2 separate regions of the Homo sapiens genome follow, and region 1 is linked to region 2. The links are contacts of gene promoters, found by promoter capture Hi-C in blood cells and fetal thymus (Javierre and others, 2016). All regions are on one chromosome and are shown on one strand. Each heading gives the region's core, a stretch centred on a gene start or on the middle of the fragment in contact. The rest is flanking DNA. Distances are from core to core; before and after follow the strand shown.

Region 1 (5,205 bases), core at 1,727-4,226, 980 kb after region 2:
GTCATGTCATACATACTGTTAGAGTTCTAGTTTCTCTTCAGACCCTCTTCTAGACTAGACCCAACATCTGGTTCTGGTGCACCATCTAGTGGCTGTAGGAATCACTGATGCCTGAATGTTACTTGCTTTTACTGCATTGTAGAAATTACTAGAGCATTTATTTTTTAGAAAATAGTGAGAATTCTAAAAGGCAAAACCAAATTCACAAAATTATTTTCTTCTAAAATTCAAATGCAAATCAGTTAATAAGCAATAGAACTCTTAACGTGAGGGAATCCATAGTGCATAATTGTTTTGTATAGCACATATTTAAATGACCATATTAATTTAAATGGCAATGCATACTCATTTAAGTACTAATATTTATTTGTGAATATGCATATTTATTTAAATACTCTGTAAACTGCTTCATGTACAGAGACCCACAATTTAGACAGTGGATATAAATAATTAACCTGCTGACAATAATGTGTATGTGATGGCTGAGATATATTTTTTCCTTTTTTTGACATGCCTTAAATGATTAAGCACAAGCAGGCATTAATAAACTCATTCAAAAATACTTGGTCACATCTTCGTGTTATTATCTAAACTGTACACTCATGAAAATATACTTATTTTTAATTTAGAAAGGCACTCCTCAGCATTTCTTTTTCTATTCTAAATTCTTTGCTAATATCTAGAAAATGTACCTCTTTCAAATACCTACAAATATGTTTAAGTTACTAAGTTGTAAATAAAAAGATGACTGATCAGGTACTTATATGGTACAAAAAGATGAAGCATTAAAGGCAAAATTAACTTTCTCAAAGCAAGTTTCTCACTGATACTTACTCCCCTCCCATAGCGTGCATGGCTCTCGTAAGTCAACTGGTATAATCCCAAATTCCAAATTAATTGTTGGTCACACACAAGTAACTTACTCAATATGCCTGAAGCAAAGGTAAGGCTAAGAAGATGTTTACTAAGAGCATGCAAACCAACCTGATTCCCTATAGAAATAGTTTTGATTTCATTTTGAACACTGTTACAAAATCTTATACATAATTATAAATCAGAAGTCAGGATGGGCTCATTTTGAACTAGTTACAGAAAAATCAACCAAATTTCACTTTTTTTCTTTCTAAAAATAATGTTATTTGACTGATAATAGTTCAAGGAAGCCATGACTGCACATAGTAACTATCTCTCTGCTAAGTGGATGAATGGATTTGACATATCTTGGTTTTGGGCAGGTATTTCACAAGGACATTTAGATTTAACTGTGAGGCAGAGAAATGTGAGCTGGAAACAGGAGAGCTAGGTGGATTCTGGCTACTGTTTAAAGAATTAAGACCTATCTGAATGGAGGCCTCTCGGATCATGTCTTAGGGTTTTTTCCTTGAACGCATCCCATTCAATACATTCATCAATTACCTGGCACAGATGAAGAAGCTGAAACAGACAGCAAAAATAATGAAAGCAAAGTGGGTAGGGAGAACTTTCAAGTCATTTCAATTTATTAGAATAATGGGCCCAAATCAAGAAAATGAATATAGAATAATTATTTCTTAGACTTGAAAAAGTATGTGCAACCTCAGAATAATGATTCTGTCCTGTATTTCCAGCCTGTGCCTCAACACTTTCAGTGATAGGGAACACACTACTTCCAAGCAAAGCCATCATTAAGGGACAGCTCCAACCACACATACAACATGGCATGTTTAGGTTTAAAAGAAATCTATTATAGGTACAAGGGATAGACAAGATACAGTTGTTAGCAGTTTTTGATTTAGATAACCCAATAGAGTAAACTGCTAAAAAAAACTTAACACCATTTTTGCATATACAGGCATATCTTATTTTCCTGCACTTCACTTTATTGCATTTCGAAGATATTGTCTGTGTGTGTGTGTGTGTGTGTGTGTGTGTGTGTGTGTGTGTTTACAAATTCAAGTTTTGTGGCAATCCTATGTCAGGCAAGTTTACTGGCGCCATTTTCCCAAGAGCATGTGCTCACTTTGCATCTTTGTGTGATACTTGGGTAATTGTCACAATATTTCAAACTTTTAAATTATTATTATATTTTGTATGGTGATCTGTGATCAGTGACCTTTGATGTTTCTACTGTAATTGTTTTGGGTTCGATGAACTGTACCCAAGACGGCAAACTTAATGGATAAATGTTGTGTGTGTTGTGACTGCATCACTGACCAGCTGCTACCCCATCTTACTCCCTCTTCTTGAGCCCCCCTATTCCTTGAGACACAACAATATTGAAATTAGGCCAGTTAGTAACCCTAAGTGTTCAAGTGAAAGGAAAAGTCATACATCTTTCACTTTAAATCAAAAGCTATAAATGATTATGCTTAGCGAGTCAGGCACTTCGAAAGCTGAGATGGGCTGGAAGCTAGGCCTCTTGAGCCAGTTAGCCAAGCTATGAAAGCAAAGGAAAAGTTCCAGAAGGAAATTAAAATGTTATTCCAGTTAACACACAAATGATAAGAAAGCAAAACAGCCTTATCGCTGATTTGGAGAAAGTTTGAGTGGTCTGGATAGAAGATCAAACCAGTTACAATATCCCCCAAAGCTAAAGCCTAATCCAGAGCAAGGGCCACTCTTCAGTTCTTCACGGCTGAGAGAGGTAAGAAAGCTGCAGAAGGAAAGTTGGAAGCTAGCGGAGGTTGGTTCATGAGGTTTAAGGACAGAAGCTGTCTCCATAACATATAAGTGCAAGTTGTAGCAGCAAGTGCTGATGTAGAAGCTGCAGCAAGGTATCCAGAAGATCTAGCTAAGATCACTGATGAAGGCAGCCATACTAAACTACAGATTTTCAATGTAGATGATATACCCTCCTATTGAAAGATGTCATGTAGGACTTTCTGAGCTAGAGAGGAGAAGTCAATGCCTAGCTTTAAAGCTTCAAAGGACAGATGGACTCTTGTTAGGGACTAATGGAGACAGTAACCTTCAGCTGAAGCCAAGGCTCATATACTATTCTGAAAATCCTAGGGCCCTTAAAGAATTATGCTAAATCTAATGCTAAATCTGCTTGTGCTGTATAAATGTAACAACAAAGCTTGGATTTTACAGCATGGTTTACTGAATGTTTTAAGCCCACTGTTGAGGCCTACTGCTCAGAAAAAAAGATTCCTTGAGAAATATTACTGCTCACTGACAATGCACCTGGTCACCCTAGAGCTCTGATGAGATGTACAAGGAGATGGATGTTTTTCTGCCTGCTAACACAACATGCATTCTTCAGCCCACGGATCAAGGAGTCATTTTGACTTTTAAGTCTTATCATTTAAGAAATACATTTCGTAAGACTATAGCTCCATAGCTAGTGATTCCTCTTGTGAATCCAGGCAAATTAAATTTAAAAACCCCTGGAGAGGATTCACCATTCTAGATGCCATTAGGAACATTTGTGATTCATGATAAGTCAAAAATCAACATGAACAGGAATGTGGAAGTAGTTCATTCAATCCTCATCGATGACTTTGAGGGATTCAGGGCTTCCATGGAGAAAGGAATTGCAGATGTGGTGGAAACAGCAGGAGAATTACAACTAGAAGTGGAGCCGGGCGCGGTGGCTCACGCCTGTAATCCCAGCACTTTGGGAGGCTGAGGTGGGCAGATCACCTGAGGTCGGGAGTTCGAGACCAGCCTGACCAACATGAAGAAACCCTGTCTCTACTAAAAATACAAAACTAGCCAGGCATGGTGGCACATGCCTGTAATCCCAGCTACTTGGGAGGCTGAGGCAGGAGACTCACTTGAAACTGGGAGGCGGAGGCTGAGGTAAGCCGAGATTGCGCCATTGCACTCCAGCCTGGGTAACAAGAGCGAAACTCCATGTCAAAAAAAAAAAAAAAAAAAAAAGGATTAGAAGTGGACTCAAGATGTGACTGAATTCCTGCAATCTCATGATAAAACTTGAATGAATGAGGAACTGCTTCTTACGGATGCGCAAAAAAAGTGATTCTTGAAATGGAATGTATTCCCAGTGAAGATGCTGTCAACACTGTCCAAATTACAATGAAGGATTTAGAAGATTTTATAAACTTAGTTGATAAAGCAGCATCAGAAGATTGACTGCAATTTAGAAAGAAGTTCTATGGTGGGTAAAATGTTATGAAACAGCACCACAGGCTACAGGGAAATCTTCTATGAAATAAGAGTCCACTGATGTGGCAAACTTTATTGCTGTCTTAAGAAATTTCCACATCCACTCCAACCTTTAGCAACTATCACCCTGATCAGTCAGCAGCCATCAACACAGAGGCAAGACCCTCCACTAGTCAAAAGATTACGACTCTAAAGGCTCAGATGACTGTTAGTACTTGTGAGCAATGAAGTGCTTTTTAATTATGTACTTTTTTTAGACAATGCTATTGCACACTTGAGTATAGTGTAAACACAACTTTTAAATGTAATAGGGAAACAAAAAAATTGTGTGACTTCCTTTCTTGTGATATTTACTTTATTGGGATGTCGGGAACTGAACCCACAGGATCTTTGAGGTACGCCTGTATTAAGAGAAGTCCATTCACAGGATATGTTCCCTCAATTTGTGGTATGAAAACTTAAAAAGACACAGTGATCAGTTGGAGTGTATCTACAAAGACACGGCTGAGAAAACTGGAGGTGTTTGATTTGGAGAATTAAGATGTTAGTTGGTTCATGACAGTGTTGAGAGGAACACCGGGGCCAGTGAGTGAAAATTATAGCATTATCATTAGAGCCATTCTGTTCAACCAGAAGGTTCCAAGACCTAAACAGCACCGTAAGAGGCTACTGGACATTGTAAGAGAGGAGAACTCTGTCTTCAGATTGTGTTGCAGAAGAATATGCGGCCACTCAGAGCATTTAAGGAGAGTTGGTTAAACTACTAATGTGGGAACAATAGTCAGCCAGAAGTGCCAAAGAGATAATAACAGCTACAACCATCTGGTTGTTAATAACAAATTTTTTAAAATACACATAAGTATGCAGAAAACTGCACAGCAGTGACTTGCTCTCTGCGAAATATGACACGCAAGGGGTTCCCCGAATTAGGAAACACTAGACTGTAACATATAAAGTCCATTCTGACCCTTAGAGTCTGTGATTTCATTGTATTAATAGCCAAGCTAATCAATTCTGCTTCAGCATAGCATTCAAGGTTCAGATTGTTTTGAATTACAATGCATAAATGATGTCTCCTCTGCTCTCATGGTGTAT
Region 2 (4,778 bases), core at 1,655-4,154:
TATATATATATATATACACATATATATATGTAAAGTGGTGCTACAGGCCGGGCACAGTGGCTCACGCCTATAATCCCAGCACTTTGGGAGGCTGAGGCGGGTGGATCACCTGAGGTCAGGAGTTCCAGACCAGACTGGCCAACATGGTGAAACCCTGTCTCTACTAAAAATACAAAAATTAGCTGGGCGTGGTGGCGGGCGCCTATAATCCTAGTTACTCCAGAGGCCAAGGCAGGAGAATTGGTTCCCATCCCCAGCTTCAACCTGGGAGGCGGAGGTTGCAGTGAGCCAAGGTCGCGCCACTGCACTCCAGCCAGACTCGGTCTCAAAAAAAAAAAAAAAATAGTGCTATGATAAAGCCTCTCATAAGGAATAATTATCAAAATTAAAATTCAGATGCACAGGACGATTTTAGAGGAAAATAAAAATTAAGGTATAAAAAGCAATCAATAGAGAGTACCTAACATACCAAAAAGTTGAAAAGCAAAAGAGGCAACCATACACAGTGGGTTGCGAGGGGGGTGTTGTTGAAAAGGCACGACTATTTTAAGCGTGTAGAATTTTAGGGATATAAGGATGAAAGCAGAGATCTCATGCAGACCTTATTCTAAATTGGCAGAGATAGTTCTTTTCAGAGTGAGGTGCACAGATAATTTATTAATAGAAAGTTAGCCTGCTTCCTTCCATGTCTTTAACAAAATCCTTTCATTTCATGATCAAAATGCAAATGTAGCCAAGAGTTCTGCAATTCACATGACTTAAAGGGAGGTTCACAAATGCTACCATTGAGGGGAGAAATGGTATTCAAAAAGTTTTGAAAATTTTATTTTTGATCTCACGGGTTGATTTAAATACTGTGTAACACCACATCCCCTCTCCTTCATTTTTTGTTTTACTTCACTTTTTTGTGTTCTTACTCTCTTTATAATCTTCATTTCACACCAAGTTTTCTCAGAAGAGATCTTGATGATGCAGCCAACACAAACCATCAGTTCTCAATTGTACATCAGTGATTCCACCAGAGAAAATGTGAGTTTTCTGTTCAAATGGGATCCTGTGGCCATATACATAAGGAACCTAAGTACAGCTAACCTAAGAAAATAGGCTAGAAGTGAGGTCTTATACTCTACCTTTTTCCAAGGAAATATACAAGACAGTAAATTTATATTTATATACACACACATATATATATTCATACATAAATCCACTTACAAAATAAAACTATTAAGTGTTGATACATCGAAAAGGATAGAAAAATAAGCTGAATATTAAGAGTAACATTCTCAGAAAAACAGCAAGGTAGATACTGAACAAGTGAAAAATTAGATGCAAAGGCTCTAAAAGTGTAATTCTTTGAAAAGAAAACCAGGACCAGTGCAGAAAAAGCCAGCAGCCCCTCTGCAAGTGCTACATAAGAAAATGAGGCCGGGCATGGTGGCTCACGCCTGTAATCCTAGCATTTTGGGAGGCCGAGGCATGTGGATCACCTGAAGTCAGGAGTTCGAGACCAACCTGGCCAACATGGGGAAACTCCGTCTCTACTAAAAATACAAAAAATTAGCCGGGTGTTCTGGCGGGCACCTGTAATCCCAGCTACTCCAGAGGCTGAGGCAGGAGAATCGCCTGAACCCGGGAGGCGGAGGTTGCAGTGAGCCGAGGTTGCGCCATTGCACTCCACCCTGGGCAACTACAGCAAGACTGTGTCTCAAAAAAGAAAAAAAGAGCCTACGGTGAAGGAGAGAGAGATACAGCAGTGAGAATTTCATAGGGTTATCTTTTAACAGAGACGGAAGCTGACGTGAGTAGACCCTGGAAAACGTCTAGGCCCACTGCAAATAACAACATCGATCAAACACTCATAATACAGGTGGATGTGAGTAAAAAGGAGACAAAGAAAGAAGACTACAAGAGAGAGGCCATCTGAAATAATATAAAAATAATTGATCATCTTTGATATGTTTTTACATGGTTGTCTTATTTAAATATTCACAACTCCTGGAGGTAGGGTTTTATTTTACAGAAAAAAAAAAAAAAAAAACTAAACAGGCTCAATGATGTTTAAGTATCTAGTCCAAGCTCACCACAGGGGCATAAAGTGGCAGAACCGACATTAGAGGGTAGACAGAGGGTAACCGCAAGACACAAATTTCGTGTTCTGCAACACTTGTGTAGGCTTCACACACACGTGCCTCCGGGGCCGAAAACAGGCGACACCATAGCACTTGGGCACTGGTGTCACCCGCTTCAAGAGGAAACTAGGATAATTATGACCAAAGGGGAACTTGTTCATTCGCCGGATATTAAAGGTGCCTACTTAAGTGCGAAGAACAGGAGGCATAGCGGTGACCAAACACCTGGCCCCTGTCCCCGCCGGGATCCCAACCTTGGGGACCCCCGAAGCGCCCCGGGCGGGAATCGGGTGGGACGCGGCACGCAGGAGGGAACGGGTGTACTGGGTGGGGTGGGCGTGACGCTGTCACCGCAGGAGATCGGGCGGGTAGGGCGGACCTGGGATGCGGGATAGAGGGGGCGCGGCATTCGCGCGAGAGGGACGCGGTGCGCAACCGGCTGACTAGGGGCCGCAACGCCTAGCGCGCGCGACAAACTACGCAGCGGCGGAGACAACTCTCAAGGGATAGGGCCATCAGCCCTGCGGCCCTGGCAGGTCCCTACCAAAGATCTTGGAAGATGCCGTTTGGGGCACTAAGGGGACCTGAAGTCCTCCCCAGGCTCATTCCCGCCTGGGGGCCTTGGCTCTGGGAAGGCACGCAAGGTAAAGGGAGCGCAACGGAAACTCACCGTCCATGGTCTCCCGCACCGCATTCAGATTCGCCGCCGCGGCCGCCGCCGCCGCCCCAGCACCGCTGCTACTCGCCATGGCTAAGGCCGAGGGAGGCGGGAGAAGGGCCTGACCCGGAACTGGAGCGCCTTCCTCTCTCCGAGGCAATCACACAGCGCGTCTCGGCCCACGCCGGGCAGGCTCCGCCCCTCGCGCTCGCCGCCGGCGTGAGGCTGCGTTGATTTGAATTTGGAGCCACGTTCCTCTGCGCGGAACGTGGAGCGAGGAGTTGCCATTCGAATTTCCTACGCGGCCTCCGTGCGATTGGCTGGTTCGCGGATGGCGGGACGACACGATTGGCTAGTCGCTCACAAGCCCCGTGCCCTGGTTGGCCCAAGACAGCGCGGAAGCGGGGAGTTAAAGAGTCTATGCCTGTCGTGGAAGCTGGCCTGGCCCCCGGAGCTCCCTGGAGTCGGTACTGGGGGCTTCGTTTTGTACGCACCGGTAGGTACGCTCTTTGTGGTCCCTGGCCTTTCCTCCTGTCTGAATGGAGAGGTTTCTTTTCCCAGCTCCTGACTTGCCTGCCCGCTCGCCCCTGGTGAATGGGAGCAGTCAGGGAGTAGGTGTGGAAGAGAGGGGCACCAGAAAGAGTGGCCACGTAGGGTTGGGGGCGACGCCTCCTTCGCACTCCATCCAGGGAAGCCGGCTGCATCTCAACCTTCCAGAAGTAGACTCTTTTCCACCCCACCCCGCCAAGGTGTAGCCTCTGTAGCCTCCTTTGATTGCAAGTAATGCAGTCTCCCTTTCTATCCCGGGAGGGGTGGAGGGGAGGTCTTGGCGAAAGGAGGATTTTTGGAGGAAAGGGGACCCCAGGCAGTTAATTTCCTAGCCCCTGTCAATCATACTTCTCTGGCTAGGACTCATGTGCAAGAAAGGCACAAGCTTCCTCATCTCTTACCTGCTTGCTACAAAGAATTGTTTAATAGCAACTGTAGTTGGATAGGGTATCCGAAGAATGTTCATAGTGTTGAGACATGAGATGATGAATTTAAAAAAAATTGTAGCTATAAGTCCTTTAGTTGAGAAGAGATCTGGGCCTGTTGTAACCTTTAGTTTCCTCAGAGGCAGATCTGAATTCATTCATATTTGATTGCTGCGTATAAGCCACTTCACTTCTCTGAGCTTAATACTTTCGCAAAATAATATCACTAGTAAGTTACTGCTATAGCTTTCAAGGTTGTTTCGAGGATCAGTTGAGAACATTTATATGTGATACTTTTTTTGTAAGCTGTATCATAGCCCCAAGAGTGTGAGGTTTTGAGTTGTTTTTTGTGACACATTTGTCGAGTACATTTTAATAGTTAAAATTAATATCTATGGGACTTTGTAATTTTAACATGCATACTCTTGATTTCTTTTTAGTTTTCTCTCTGTGCTATGGGAGATGTCAAGGAATCAAAGATGCAAATAACACCAGAAACTCCAGGAAGGATCCCTGTTTTAAATCCTTTTGAAAGTCCTAGTGATTATTCTAATCTCCATGAACAAACTCTCGCCAGTCCTTCTGTTTTTAAATCAACAAAATTACCAGTAAGTTATTCCTGACTAGTGTTTACAACTAATTTTAAATGTAAGTAATTACAAATAATTTTAAATGTAAACATCTGTCTTTACAAGGTAAGGAGGAAATACATTATGGAGCATATATAGCTGCAATATACTTTTTTAAATTGTAGTGTTCATTATAATCTAGTGGTTAGGTTAATAAGTTAGCTAGAAGATTTTTTTTTTTTTAAGTTCAAGAACATACGTTAGCTTCCTGCAGTTGTGGGTGTAGCTACATTCTGTGGTTGACGATATAGCTACTAATACATTAGAGAAGAAGCTGCATCATCTAATATTCTGTTCTCACTTATTTGGCAAACATTATTTGAGTGTTGCTATGTGTCAGATACAGTGCTAAGCAGGGATTACACTGTGAACAAGTTAGGATCATTAG

The links. Contacts are between HindIII fragments. The CHiCAGO score rates a contact against its expected background, and 5 or more counts as called.
Region 1: a contact is called between a fragment that was not itself captured here and the fragment with the promoter of MZT1 in region 2, in 2 of 17 cell types (activated CD4 T cells and fetal thymus). The highest score is 6.4, in activated CD4 T cells.

The regions. Positions count from the first base shown.
Region 1 is chr13:73,708,497-73,713,701 of GRCh38, forward strand. All of the region lies in intron 7 of KLF12 (KLF transcription factor 12), which reads right to left. Among named protein-coding and RNA genes, the nearest start is that of LINC00393, 49 kb to the left of the region's middle. The HindIII fragment of the contact is 159 bases long and covers 2,898-3,056 here.
Region 2 is chr13:72,724,725-72,729,502 of GRCh38, forward strand. It overlaps MZT1 (mitotic spindle organizing protein 1), which reads right to left and starts at 2,905. Exons shown (of 3, transcript NM_001071775.3): 1 at 2,800-2,905. The coding sequence starts at 2,878. It overlaps BORA (BORA aurora kinase A activator), which reads left to right and starts at 3,199. Exons shown (of 12, transcript NM_024808.5): 1 at 3,199-3,283; 2 at 4,202-4,369. The coding sequence starts at 4,217. RefSeq lists silencers at 2,351-2,410, 2,366-2,547, 3,071-3,220 and enhancers at 2,641-2,710, 3,431-3,480. The HindIII fragment of the contact is 9,444 bases long and covers 1-3,719 here.